2 separate regions of the Homo sapiens genome follow, and region 2 is linked to region 1. Evidence: promoter capture Hi-C in 16 types of primary human blood cells and fetal thymus (Javierre and others, 2016). All regions are on one chromosome and are shown on one strand. Each heading gives the region's core, a stretch centred on a gene start or on the middle of the fragment in contact. The rest is flanking DNA. Distances are from core to core; before and after follow the strand shown. Region 1 holds the start of LINC01381 (long intergenic non-protein coding RNA 1381). Region 2 overlaps DNAJC27 (DnaJ heat shock protein family (Hsp40) member C27).

Region 1 (2,703 bases), core at 177-2,676:
TTTCACAGATGGAGAAACTGAGGCCAGTGACTTGCCCACATCCCATAGTGGCAGACCTGGGCCCCTCCTTCAGAGCTTGTTGCTCACAGGATATGGGCCTGAGGGATTTTTTTTTTTTTTTTTTTTTTTTTGAGACAGAGTCTCGCTCTGTTGCCCAGGCTGGAGTGCAGTGGCACGATCTTGGTTCACTGCAACCTCCACCTCCCAGGTTCAAGCTATTCTTGTGCCTCAGCCTCTCCAAGTAGGTGGGATTACAGGTGTGTGCCACCATGCCTGGCTAATTTTTTGTATTAGCCAGGGTTTTGCCATGTTGGGCAGGCTGGTCTTGAACTCCTGGCCTCAAGTGAGGCCTCTCAAAGTGCTGGAAGTACAGGCGTGAGCCACTGTGCCCGGCCCGTGAGGGACTTTTGAGAGGACAGGAGCCAGCCATGGCTGGAATAATCCAATGTACAGAGTCTACCTGGTGCGGCTGTTGCTGTCTTGCCCTCGGGGAGTTCAGCCCCTGTAAGAGAGGTTCAGTGGTTCGGTTCTGCTCAGGGGGTTCCTCAGGCCAGTCTGGGAGACACTGGGTGACACTCACATTCCTGCACCCCCTAGTCCTGGCCCCAGTTCACACAGACCACTCGCTGTCATTGGGTAGGTATTAGGGTTCTGAGTCAGATGTCCTCCAAAGAAGGGGTTCTACCACAAATTGAGTTGCCAGATTTAGCAAATAAAAATACAGGCCAGGCCAGGAGTGGTGGCTCATGCCTGGAATCCCAGCACTTTGGGAGACCAAGGCAGGAGAATCACTTGAGCCCAGGAGTTCGAGACCAGCTTGGGCAAAATAGCGAGACGCCCCCCAGCTCTACAAAAAATACAAACATTAGCTGAGTGTAGTGGTGTACATCTATTCTGGAGGCTGAGGCAGGAAGATCTCTTGAGTCCAGGAGTTGGAGGCTGCAGTGAACTATGATTGTGCCACTGCACCCCAGCCTGGGCAACAAAGCAAGTCCTTGTCGCAAAAAACAAACAAACAAACAAACAAAAAACCAGGACAAAACGTTGGAGACATTCTGATACTAAATAGGACATCCTAAACAGGATAGATGTATACTAAAAATGTATCTGTTGCTTATCTGAAATTTGAATTTAACTGGACCTCCTACATTTAACCTGGCAATCCAAACTGAAAAAAAAAACCACCTAAAATTAAAATTAAATTAACAAAATTTAAATTTAATGAAATTAATAAAATTTAAAACAAAACTAAAATGAAAGAAAAAGTAAAATAAAAAAAATTTTTTAAATGAGTTAAATTAAATGAAACGAGAATAAAATCCCAAAAGAGGTGAACACTGCACAAGCGCGCACGCCTGCGCCGAGCGCCCGTGGCCCAGCAAGATGGCGAGGCCGCGCCTTCCCCACCCAGGCGTGGGGTCCTCGGGCCTCTGCGCGGCGCTCGCCCGGGACTGGGACGCAGAGCCGCGGACGGCTTTGGGGACGCCAGGGCTCCGGACTTCCCCGGCGGCGCCTCACGGGCGGCAATCGCCCGCGAGCCTTGGGGCGCGGCACCCAGGGCCTCCCCACCGGGCTCCGAGGGACGCAGCGGCCTCGCCACCGCATTAGGCCGAATCCGGTGCCTTCTAGAAATGGCCTCCTGCAGCTCCAGAGCGCCTGCAGGGTGAGCAGAGGCTGCTCTGTTTTCAAGAAAGCCGCGCGCCCTCATGGCCCCGCAGGGCCCCTCACGGCCTCTGCTGCTCTGGGGAGAAGGTAGCCGGCGCCACCGAGTCCCAGGAGGTCCCCGGACGCCCGCCCGGGCCCCGTGGGAGGGTGACGCCCGTGACAGCTCCTCTAGCTGCACTCTGCTGCCTCTGTCATTCTGCCACTCAAATCTCTGGCCTGACACTGTGCAGGCGGAAACAAGTGGGGGGCCCCTAGGTTTTCCCCCACAAATCTGAATGCTGAAAGGCGCGCCAGAGAACTTTTGCTCACTTGGGGAAAAGCCGATCTGTACCTTAGAAAGGGCAATAATAAGGATATAATATTAAATTAATAATACCTAATACAGTCATAAAGGTCCAGAACCTTATGCCCAGGCACCCCACTCCCTGGGAATGTATCCTAATGAAATAATTCAAAGGAATAACCGTGCCCTAGGCATAATCATGTTCATTATGGCATTATTAGTGTGAGCTAAAAATTGAAAACAACCTCGCCACCTAGCAAGGGAGAATGGTTAAGGGAACGGTTTTACACCCACTAGATGGAATGCCGTGTAGCCAGTAAGTGATTATTGCAAGGTCTGTAGAAACACGGGGAAATGTTTATAATGTAATCTTAATGAAAAATGGTTTAACATGAAATGGTAAATTCTCATGGATCTCAACTCCTTCAGAATTGCTTTTTCTTTTAATCGAAAATGTTATATAGATACTTGCAGATTCACATGCAGTTATAAGAAAATATAGGCCGGGCGCGGTGGCTCACGCCTGTAATCCCAACACTTTGAGAGGCCGAGGCGGGCAGATCATGAGGTCAAGAGATTGAGACCATCCTGGCCAACATGGTGAAACTCCGTCTTTACTAAAAATACAACAATTAGCCGGGCATGTGGCATGTGCCTGTAGTCCCAGCTACTCGAGAGGCTGAGGCAGGAGAATCGCTTGAACCCGGGAGGCAGAAGTTACAGTGAGCCAAGATCGGGCCGCGGCACTCCAGCCT
Region 2 (2,700 bases), core at 189-2,688, 260 kb before region 1:
TAGGTACTAGTTTATAGGTATAAAGAAATAGTTACTTAGTTGAGAATTCAATATATGAGAACATACTAGAGTAAGTTTCCTGAGGTAAAAGTATGCCTTAAAGAATGATGTGCAATCTATAAAACTGTAGCATTTTCTCTTGGGTAGCAACACAATGACCCCCAAGTCTGGATTTTTAAATTAACAGGCTAAGAAAACTAAGGACACATTGATATAGAGAAATAAAATAACAATGCTGAAGTCAAAGAAATATTGACAGCTGAGATATCAATTCAAAAGGAGGCATGAAGGGGAACAGAGGAACAGAAGGAGGCTGTATTTTAAAGTGCTTAGGTAGGTTAGAAGATGAATTTGAAATGCCTCCAGGGATTTCTAACAAGTTTAAAAAGTGTTACTTCTTGGTGACTCAGATGTTGAAGACATGGCTTTTCTTTAATAATAGCTATTCAAACTTTTTATTCTTTTTTGAAAAACAAGATTCTCTATAAAAACGTTTTAGCCATTGTAATTATTCTGCTAGCTGTTACTCTCACTAATGTATTTTGAAATCCTAACTGGCTGAAGAATTTTTAATAAGGTTGAACTACAAAGCACACATTTGCACCAAGAATTTAAATTAATGCATAGATGTCTGTGAAATTCTGCATGAAGTTAGTGCCAAAAAAACCTTTCCATTGCAGATCATGCTTTATTTCTTAATATTCTGCTGAAGGATTATAGAAATCAGAAAAATTCTAGGACCCTGAAGCTTAACTTGCTTATTTTATTCCTTTTACGTAAATGAAGTGGTATATGGCCATTCTTAACATTAATAATGAAGGTGTTGGAAACTGAGTCTCAAGACCTAAGAATCAAGCTCAGGCTAAATTTCACCAACTCACACATAAGGATATGAGTGGGAGCACTAATGAATTTTCTCTGCTGTAATTGCTCATCTGTGCAATACGGCTGAATGAGGTTCCCAATCTAGTATTTAATAACAGTGATGAAAACTGGCACCAGCTTTCATAGAGGGCCACACATTCAGAGTTGTCGTGTCAATTCGGGCTGACGCTACCGTGCACGATCCCTCATTCATATGACTTCTACATTCTGCTGTGAGGACAGACATGTCTGAGTGCTTTCAGCATGATAAAGGCCTTCCTTAAGCAAAATTTAGGTCCCGAAGAACTCTGGGTTGGAGTTCTGTAGCCTCAGAAGCCAGTTAAAGGCCAGAGGAAAACCTCGCAAGAAATAACATATATCAATCAGTTCATTTAAAAAGTTGTTTTGATATTACCAAGATGAAAAGTGCGATGATAAAGCAACGCTCTGGTTTCCTGAAGACAAGCTCAGTGCAGCCCAAGTACAGGCATACAGTGAAAAGCTGCTGTGTGGAAAATCCACAAGGCTGCAGTGGGCTTGGATTGGAAGAAAGTGGCTTTTCTTCTTAGGAGGTAAGGTAGATGCTCTTTGGCAATCGATATGGGATAGCTTTTTAAAATTCACAGGACAGGAAGATTTTATATACTTTCAAGCCCCAATTAGTACAGCTAATTGAAAGTATATAAAAATGTGAATTAGTGTGGTTGCAGCTAAAAGTATGAGTGATGTAACAAGAATGACGACGTAATGAGTCAAGTGGTGAGACTAGTTCTATAAGCACCGTAAGGAGTGCCAGTCCTAATACATGAACTTCATCCATCCCTTGTATATCAAGGAGGAGACTGTGGTCAGAGAATGTATTTTGTAAGCTATAGTTTAAAAATATTACTCTTCAGAAATTTGGAGCCCAAGCAGGAATTACAGAGATTCCTCCCAACAGAGGCCCTGAGATCTCCCCTGACTGCCACCCAAAGGATCCACACTTGCCTCTGATCAACCAGATTCAGGCCAAGGCTTAGAAGAGGGAGGAGGCAGTGGCCAGAAGCCAGGGACTCTAGAGGAGAGAAATGATGGCAGATGTGGGGTTCAGAAAAAACACAAGACGGGAAGGGGAAGAGGGGAAAAAAGGAAGAAACAACACTGGTGAGGAAGTGTAGAAGAGGCCAACTTTGCTGAGGAGTGGCCCTGCCTTTCTCACCTGCCTGTGGCAAAGGCTGGCAGTAAGACAAGGGCTAAGCCTCATAAGGAGTCTCTCCTACTGCATCAAGCTTGCCCCAAGCTTGGCTGGCCTTTCCTCTGCTGATGTGCATAATCTTTAAGTGCGACCTCTAAGTACCTTTTTTTTTTTTCTTTAAGAGACAAGATCTTACTATGTTGCCCAGGTGGGACTTGAGCTCCTGGGCTTAAGCAATCCTCCTGTCTCAGCCTCCTGAGTAGCTGGGACTACAGGCGGATACTACTGCAGCTGGCTCCTCCAAGTACTTCTGTCTTGGGGCCTGATTCCTCATTCCCAGGTGCACAGTGCTCTCTACTGCTACCAGCAACCATTTCTATGGCAAGGGAAAGGCCTCAGATCCAGGGACAGGATAGGCAGCAGCCAGTGTACCTAGAATTTGTGGCTGCCACCACCTTTTCTCTTAGGACTGGCTTGTCTCTCCCACTGGTGGCTGCAGAAGAGGAACAGAGTGAATATCATAAAGGAATGCTCAATTCAGAACTGTATCACCTCATTTTACAAACTCCCAAAGGGCTGCCAAGAGTCATCATTATAGATCGATGGGTTAAAATACCACCTAAGGAACTCATTGTAAAAGCAGCAACTTGTCTGTAAGGTCA

What was found. The method cuts DNA at HindIII sites, captures the fragments that hold promoters and counts their contacts. A CHiCAGO score of 5 or more calls a contact.
Region 2: a contact is called between a fragment that was not itself captured here and the fragment with the promoter of LINC01381 in region 1, in 2 of 17 cell types (M0 macrophages and M1 macrophages). The highest score is 5.3, in M0 macrophages.

The regions. Positions count from the first base shown.
Region 1 is chr2:25,202,887-25,205,589 of GRCh38, forward strand. It overlaps LINC01381 (long intergenic non-protein coding RNA 1381), which reads left to right and starts at 1,427. Exons shown (of 2, transcript NR_132378.1): 1 at 1,427-1,663. RefSeq lists a silencer at 1,425-1,764. The HindIII fragment of the contact is 10,460 bases long and covers 1-2,703 here.
Region 2 is chr2:24,944,475-24,947,174 of GRCh38, forward strand. DNAJC27 (DnaJ heat shock protein family (Hsp40) member C27) reads right to left here. Exons shown (of 7, transcript NM_016544.3): 7 at 1-2,700. Among named protein-coding and RNA genes, the nearest start is that of ADCY3, 26 kb to the left of the region's middle. The HindIII fragment of the contact is 1,384 bases long and covers 747-2,130 here.